3 separate regions of the Homo sapiens genome follow, and regions 2 and 3 are each linked to region 1. Evidence: promoter capture Hi-C in 16 types of primary human blood cells and fetal thymus (Javierre and others, 2016). All regions are on one chromosome and are shown on one strand. Each heading gives the region's core, a stretch centred on a gene start or on the middle of the fragment in contact. The rest is flanking DNA. Distances are from core to core; before and after follow the strand shown.

Evidence for each region. The method cuts DNA at HindIII sites, captures the fragments that hold promoters and counts their contacts. A CHiCAGO score of 5 or more calls a contact.
Region 2: a contact is called between a fragment that was not itself captured here and the fragment with the promoter of LDHB in region 1, in 6 of 17 cell types (fetal thymus, total B cells, non-activated CD4 T cells and 3 more). The highest score is 7.8, in fetal thymus.
Region 3: a contact is called between a fragment that was not itself captured here and the fragment with the promoter of LDHB in region 1, in 2 of 17 cell types (fetal thymus and non-activated CD4 T cells). The highest score is 5.6, in fetal thymus.

Annotation. Positions count from the first base shown.
Region 1 is chr12:21,656,414-21,659,279 of GRCh38, reverse strand. LDHB (lactate dehydrogenase B) reads left to right here and starts at 1,438. Exons shown (of 8, transcript NM_002300.8): 1 at 1,438-1,529. RefSeq lists enhancers at 957-1,136, 1,011-1,539, 1,517-1,766, 1,797-1,886. The HindIII fragment of the contact is 8,571 bases long and covers 1-2,866 here.
Region 2 is chr12:21,431,268-21,434,133 of GRCh38, reverse strand. No RefSeq gene overlaps it. Among named protein-coding and RNA genes, the nearest start is that of PYROXD1, 5.0 kb to the left of the region's middle. The HindIII fragment of the contact is 2,123 bases long and covers 312-2,434 here.
Region 3 is chr12:21,473,249-21,476,114 of GRCh38, reverse strand. RECQL (RecQ like helicase) reads left to right here. Exons shown (of 15, transcript NM_002907.4): 9 at 291-439; 10 at 530-647; 11 at 1,136-1,274; 12 at 2,473-2,564. Among named protein-coding and RNA genes, the nearest start is that of RECQL, 27 kb to the left of the region's middle. The HindIII fragment of the contact is 499 bases long and covers 1,239-1,737 here.

The DNA.
Region 1 (2,866 bases), core at 189-2,688:
AATTGGACTGTATCTTCAGTCAAAGTCCCCACTAGCTGAATGATTTATGCTAGGAGAGTTTGAGGCTTATGAATTCTTCTCAACAAACCCTTCTCTTAGTGATTCTTTACTCTGAATTTTTATTGTACTTTAACCAAATTTCTATTGCCACTTATTGTAATTGAAATAGGTTGCCTACTTGTCTGTCTCCAATGGACTAGGAACACCTCAAAGGGCATAATCTTATATTTATGTTTTTTACCAATGCTTGGCACTGAGAATAAACTGAAGCAATAATTATAGAATTAGTGGTCATATACAAGAAATATGCATTTACAAAAAAAAACACTTCACATACAGGAAGTTTGTGAGATGGCTATATTTGAAAGCATTTTAATTATAAGAAAACAGAACTGAAGCCAGACTCTTCAGAATTCCTCCAATTTATCATTCATTCATTTATTCATCAATGCTATATTTAGGTACCAAGCACTGGCTGAGTGTTGAAGACAGAATGAATGACAACATCCAGCTTTGGAGTCGATTAGGGACTAAAAAAGAAAGTGCATCTCACTTAGTGGTCCCACATTTCCCCTAGAGGGCAAAGCCTGACCTTGAGACCAGGTGGAATTGTAGGGGAACTTCAGATGGCAGGGACAAAGCCTCATTGGTCTTGTCAGGCAACGAGTAAGCAATCATTGCGTGTTTGTTGAAACAGGTTGAAAAAAATAGTCATTTTCATCAAATGAACTTTAAAACGGAGATGATCTAAATTCAGATGTATTTTTTTAAGTCCTTTAAAGTTTAACTGAAATGCAACATAGAAATTTATTTCTGGCCGGGCGCGGTGGCTCAGGCCTGTAATCCCAGCACTTTGGGAGGCCGAGGCGGGCGGATCACGAGGTCAGGAGATCGAGACCATCCTGGCTAACACGGTGAAACCCCCCTCTCTACTAAAAATACAAAAAATTAGCCGGGCGAGGTGGCGGGCGCCTGTAGTCCCAGCTACTCGGGAGGCTGAGGCAGGAGAATGTCGTGAGCCCGGGAGGCGGAGCTTGCAGTGAGCCGAGATCGCGCCACTGCACTCCAGCCTGGGCGACAGAGTGAGACTCCGTCTCAAAATAAAAAAAAGAAGGAAAGAAATTTATTTCTATTTGTACTAAATCTAATAGAACAAGAGCGTTAAAGTCCAGAAGAGTCGGGGATGGGCAAGTTTTATAAATAACTTGGCCTCCGCATTGAAGAGCCTGCGAGATGTGAGACCAGCTGAGAGCGGAAGCCTCTGGAAGGAGACCTCCTCATCTGGAGGGTGGGGGAGGGAGTGTGCATACTTGAGCCCTTGTCCTTGAAGGGGATTGAGCGAGCCGAGGGGAGGGGTAGGCGGTACTCGGATTTCCAATCACAATGGAGAAACCTAAGAGGCTGCGGTGGTTGTGGGGCCCCGCCCCCTCCTCCCTCCTTGCAGAGCCGGCGCCGGAGGAGACGCACGCAGCTGACTTTGTCTTCTCCGCACGACTGTTACAGAGGTCTCCAGAGCCTTCTCTCTCCTGGTAGGTTTCGGCTCAGGACCCTGAATCCTGGCCCACAGGCAAGCCTGATGGGACGTGCGGGGTAGTACTTGTATGGGGAGACGCGGGAAGGAGGAAGAAGCACATCTGTCCTCCGCGGCCTTTAGCTCTGAGCATCCGGCCGCGGGCCCTGACTTTGCCGCTCAGTTTGGGGCGCAGGGGGGGCCGTGCCCTGGCGGAGGAGCAGAAGGCAGAGGGTAGCAGCTGCGGCTCAGCGGAGAGACTTGTTGCATTTGCAGCTAAAACCAGGCCCTACTTGTCCTTGGTGGGTTCATGGCGGCCACATCACCCCCACGGCCTGCTGGCGGGAGTCGGGACACGTGCCCGAGTAGCTGGGGGAGGGGGACGGAACCAGGTGGCCTATGAAGGCTGGACGATCTTTACCTCGAATATTTGAATATATTGCCACGGTAATAGAGAAATGCCCTTGCACTCGCTGGGATGAGGAGAAAGGCACCTAGATGACCAGCACGTTTGGCGCTGCACTTATTTTTACCCGGCTCTGACGGTCTTTCCAGGAGCCATGCGCCAGTTCTTTCCTGCAGGGCCTCTTTTCTGGATGCTTAGGGGCTTCGTTTACTTTACCAGCCTTGGGTGCTCCGAGTAAGGAAGTCCTAGACTTGTCCCCACAGACCTTACTCGGGGAGATCTCTAGCTTCTGCATGCCCTCGTGATCTGCTGTTCTTTGCTGCCGGTGCCCTGAGGAAAAGATGGTTTGTGCGCACCGCGAGCAGTACAAGCTGCAGTAAGGGCCTGGGGAATGGGGGGAGGGGAGGAATTCAAAAGCAAAACCTGAATTTTTAAAAGATTACGGTGAGAAAGATTCTGCAAAGAAGATCTTTGTTCCTGAAATTAAGGCGCTCCTTTATTTCTAATGATTTATATCCACAGCAGTGAGGAGACATAAGGGACCAAGACTCAGAGATTTTTACCGTTTGTCGTTCTTGTTCCTTACAGCCTGCACTCTGATGTTGGCACAGGCCTGTATATCATGCAGACCATTTTCTTCTCATTTCTTAAAACTCTTTTTAAGGAAAAATTGAAGAAAAGCACTTTCTCCAGAAATATCTGAAAGAAAATCTGGTTCGAGCCTTTAAATTGTACTTCCTGAAGTTTTCTAAATTAAAAGGTCTATCAGAACAACGAATCTGTATTTATATAGCCACTGTTTCTTCATTTTCATTTTCCACTGCTTCCTGGGCCCCCTGTATACCAAAACGGTCGTAAACAGACCATCTAACAACAATAAACTTAAGTGCAGAACAACTATTCATGTGTGTCGTCCTTCAAAAAGAGATGCAGCATTCTTTCTTCTGAGC
Region 2 (2,866 bases), core at 124-2,623, 230 kb after region 1:
GAGGAAAGAGCCTCACTGTTGTTCCTGTATGAGCATATATATGCAAACCTACCCCCAAAGGCTGAGAGAGCTGAGAGGCCAAAGAAAAACTGACAAATCCAGTTTCTCAGAAAGAGGTATTTAATAGGGACTTACACACAGAAATGATGATTCTGTTACAGTGCATCCCCACACCTGCCCTCCAGAAATTATGTAAGCTTTTAGGATAAAAGATGTACAGCTGATCATGTCTCAGACTTTCTTGCAAAACTCATGAACACTGGGGAGTCTAGATAAGAATCTTAATGAGAGAATTATCTAAGTTACAAGCTTTGTTTCTTTTGAAGGGTTATCTATGCTATGGGCATTGTTTAAGGACCTTGCTGCAGAACACCTTAGTATGCAGGAATCCAACATCAGTCATCATGGCCGTGGTGTCATTCTTGCCATACCGCAGGCTGTCTTCCTATATCTATGAATCAGTGGTGTGGTACAACTGTGAATCTGTGAGAGCTGATTGTTAAAATTTTAGGATTTGTGTGAGCTGATTGTTAACACAGCTATTGTTAAACACTAAATTGTATAAACATAATCAAATAAGTTATATTAAGACAAAGGTAATAAATATTCAAAACTTCTTATTTCCTAACTCTTTTGCTATTATCTCTACTCTTGAGGTTATTTACATCTATTGTATCTACAGGTAAAAATATAATGGTGGGCTACTATACATTTCTTCCTACTGCCTCATTCAGCGACGTCATGTTGATCTTGAAATTGGCCGTAATAGGAGTATTTACACCATGGAAAATGGCAGATTATACAAACCAGAGTTTGATTTATTTTATTGTTGATTTTTTAGAGTTAAAAAGGTGGTGGACAATAGCAAAGACATGGGATCAACCCAAATGCCCATCAATGATAGACTGGATAAAGACAATGTGGTACATATACACCATGGAATACTATGCAGCCATAAAAAGGAATCAAATTATGCCCTTTACACTGACATGGATGGAGCTGGAGGCCATTATCCTTAGCAAACTAACACAGGAACAGAAAACCAAATACCGTATGTTCTCACTTATAAGTGGGAGCTAAATGATGAGAACAGCATGGACACACAGAGGGAAACATCACACACTGGGCCTGTCTGAGGGTGGAGGTAGGAGGAGGGAGAGGATCAGGAAAAGTAATTAATGGATACTGGGCTTAATACCTGGGTGATGAAATAATCAGTACAACAAACCCCCCATGACACATGTTTACCTATGTAACAAACCTTCACATCCTGTACATGTACCCCTGAACTTAAAAGTTAAAGAAACACAAAATAGATGGAGACTCATTTAAAAAAACTGATGGAGAGAATGTTAATAATGAAATTAAAAGAGTGTCATGTCTGTTGTGGTAGATTGTAGTACACTGTGAATAGCACAAAAAAACTGAAGAAATTCTTTTTTCAGAGAGCTGCTATTCAATTTAGCAAAGAACTCACTAATATCAGACAAACAAGTGAAATTGCAACCTATTGTTCCTTTGTTTCACTTCCATCTTACTAGTTAATGTAAATAGAAAAGTCAATCAACATTCAAACTACACTCATCAATTGCTGTCATAGTTTGGGTAATACAAGCAAAAATCAATGAAAGGATTCTGTAGAATCAGCTGGCTATATGGAATTTACAATAAAGAGTATTGCATATTATTATTTGTAAAATATTTGCTATACACCTTTCAATAAAATTTATAATAAACCTATGTATATATACATACACACACACACATATATTTATACATGCAGTTTTTTCAGACAGCCAGTTGTTCAACATTTGCCGGCACAAACATTAGTTATAATCTAGCATCGCTGTTTTCATGGTGTGGCTGATTCCAAATGTTGATTCTCTGCTGGGGTGCTTTTATGGGTACATCAGAATCTCCACATCACTGGGGATCTCTCACCTACAGGTTCTGGGCCTTTCCTTCTCCAGATTCAGTCCCTTTTAAGATGAAACAGGGTCCACAATGGGCTTCTGGGAAACTCACTCATCCTTTGTCCCCACTAGACTCTGAAAGTGCACATCAAGCCAACAGAGCATCTCTCTTTTCTGCTGTCCGAATGTCTACCTAGTCACACCTCTGTGTCTTCAGTGGAATGAAGTATCAGTTTCTGCATCATTCGGACTCCAGGGGCTACCTGTAAAGCTCTCTAAATGGTTCCCTTAACGTCCTCCTCACTTGTGCTGCGGACAGGGCATTGGTGGTGGTGGGGTGAAACACTTTCCCTTCCTCTTCCCCATATGCTTCGTGAGCATGTTGGAGCAGGGAGTGAATGTGATGCACTAATGCTGGCAAAACCAATTTTATAGTCTTTTAGCACGCGTTGCCTGTGTGGTCTAGTACCTTGCGTTGAAGGCATTGGTCAACTTGACGCCTATTATACTGTTCTTAAGCTTTTGGAGCTGAATTAACCAGAAAAATCACATTTAACCCCATGATATACCATGTTTGTTTTATAAATATTAAACTTATACCATTTAGAAAACTGAATGCATTTCTTACACCATATTCCCTCAACTTCAAAGTGTAGTTTCTCAAGTCCTACCAATTCTAAAGTGTTTCCCAGTTCCTTCATTTCAGTTTTGACTGTTACTGCGCTATTTTTGGTCTTCTTCGCCCACTTAGACTATTAAAATGAGTTCCTGATTGGTCTTTGTTCCTCCATTCACTGTCTTTAAACTTATCCTCCATGCTGCCGTAAGAGTTATCTTATAAAAGGGAGATGTGGTTCCTCTGCCTTTCTACCACTTCTGCTTCTGGAACATTCCCAGTTCCCTGAATGCATCAAAAATTCTTGTCTCAGGCAGGGCTTGGTTGCTCACGCCTG
Region 3 (2,866 bases), core at 239-2,738, 180 kb after region 1:
ACAGACATCAGTTTGAGAAATACTGTTTAGTGGGAGATAAAGTTAAAGAGAGAAAAGAGATAACAGGAACAAAAACTGATGGCTCAGGCTCATTTCTGCTTTAAAGGAAGCTGGTGCTCAAATCTGGAATTATACCAAAATGTCAATATATGCACAAGGCCTTGAAATTTTTCATAATTCTTTTTTTCCTTCTGTGCATTGTATTAATCAATGTCCTGAATGTGTGTGTTGAAAACCATCTTCCAGGAATATGCCATATCTATCTAACAAATGCACATATTTTACTGCAGGAATCATATATTGTTTTTCTCAGAAAGACTCTGAACAAGTTACGGTTAGTTTGCAGAATCTGGGAATTCATGCAGGTGCTTACCATGCCAATTTGGAGCCAGAAGATAAGACCACAGTTCATAGAAAATGGTCAGCCAATGAAATTCAGGTTAGGTCTATATCTTCCATAGAAGCCTAATTTACCTTTAAAATATTTAAACTTGATTTAATTAACTGATAAAATGTTAAAATATTTCAGGTAGTAGTGGCAACTGTTGCATTTGGTATGGGAATTGATAAGCCAGATGTGAGGTTTGTTATCCATCATTCAATGAGTAAATCCATGGAAAATTATTACCAAGAGAGTGGACGTGCAGGTATGTAGGACTCAAATCCAGAAGTAAATTTTTAGAAAGCTTTTCCAAAAAATACATGATAAATGCTTAATAAGTCTGTATGTTTTATCTTTATTGGATAGTATTTTTAGAACAATGTATTTTTAGCAGTTTGACACTTACTTGCATATGGAGAAATTTTTACTTATGTTCTGTTATCTGAATTGTTTCTTTTTATGTGTGTTAAGATAATTTGATGTTCATCTTTGCCTCCTGAATTTTTAATTAGTGATTTCAAATCTATAACTTAACTGGATTATAGACACATTTTTTAACTTAGTAGAGCTGATTATTGATGTCTCTTTAGAGTTTTTTTTAATTTGAGGGTACCCATTACAAATTAACTTCCACATCTCTAAAATTTCTAGATGTAGTATAAAACATTGCCTGCTAATTTTACCATATGTCATTTTTGCATATTTTGAATTTGTAAATGTAATTCTGCAATCTCAAGGTTTCTCACACCACAGGTCGAGATGACATGAAAGCAGACTGTATTTTGTACTACGGCTTTGGAGATATATTCAGAATAAGTTCAATGGTGGTGATGGAAAATGTGGGACAGCAGAAGCTTTATGAGATGGTATCATACTGTCAAAACATAAGCAAGTAAGCCACATACCTTTTTATAACTTTTATCAATTAAAGCAAATATGAAAGTATATGACATCGTTTTTAAGTTCTTACTAAATACATTGGTGGAACACCAAAGTGCAGATCCATAAAAGCAGATGTTGGAGGGTAGGAACCAGCACATCAACCTGTATGATCTGCCTTAGTTCAAGAAAAGATGCCCTATCTTTGAGATAATCCTCCAAAACTACTTTTTTAATTGAAGGTTTTTGAGACACATTGATAGCAACTTGAAGGCTTTTTTTCTCTGGCACTGCTGTACAGTTACATGATTTAATAATTTTGAAAAGGTCTATGGTTAAGATAGGCATTTTGAGAGTCAAGCTCAGTAACGTGCCACCTTGCCAGCTCATGTGTCAATGAAATACCAAGTTTCTCCTTAAGAAGTAAGTTTAAATCTACTTAGGGTGGCTTTAGACTAGATAGCTTCCTGAAAGCTTTCTGTCATAGTTATCTTTGTGCTTTTATTGCCTATCACATAAGAAGTGCTCAGAAATGTCGAGGTGGTAAATAGCAGCCAGACAGTGATAGAAATGTTCTTTCTTTCCAATAGATACTACAATAATCTAGTTAAAAGAAATGAGAAAATGAAAATGTCTTCCAAAGGCCAGTAGAGTCTCATGAAGCATATTTTAAGGTTTCAACTCAAATATTGCTACTTTATTAAAATATAAGAAACTATTTTACTGTCAAGAATATTCTCCTAATAGTTGCAAAACATTGAATTTAAAAATGGAACTCAGACAATTTTTTAAACAGTGTTTATCAAGAATATGTGGGGAAAAAAGTCCTATGTCGGGGGCACAATGGCCCCCCAAAGATGTTCACGTCCTAATTCCTAACCTGTATGTTACCTCACATGGCAAAAGGAAAGTAGCATTGCACATGGAATTAAGACTGTTCATTAGCTGACCTTAAAATAGGGAGATTATTTTAGATTGTGTGATGTGAGAAGAACCTGACACTCTGATTTTGATCCAGTGAAACCCATAGTACACTTCTAAATCTAAACCACAGAAATGTAAGAATAAATGTGTTTAAAGCCACTAAGTTTATGGTAATATTATGGCAGTTATAGGAAGCTAATACAGTATATAACTATGTAAGCTGAAATAGAGATTCTTAAAACTTTATTATATCCTTTAATAATTTGTATCTTTAAATGTGTTTGCAGATGTCGTCGTGTGTTGATGGCTCAACATTTTGATGAAGTATGGAACTCAGAAGCATGTAACAAAATGTGCGATAACTGCTGTAAAGACAGTGGTGAGTTTGTTGTTTTGTAAACCTTTATAGGCTAATACAGTCATAATGCCTAGTGACAGAGATACGTTCTGAGAAATGCATCACTAGGTGATTTTGTCATTGTGCAAACATCAAAGTGTACTTACATAAACCTAGATGGTATAGTCTCCTAGGTGATATGTTATAGCCTATTGATCCTAGGCTACCAATCTGTACAGCGTGTTACTGTACTGCATACTGCAGGCAGCTGTAACACATGGTTAAGTATTTGTGTATCTAAACATAGAGTAAGTACAGTAAAAATATGGTATTATAACCTGGGT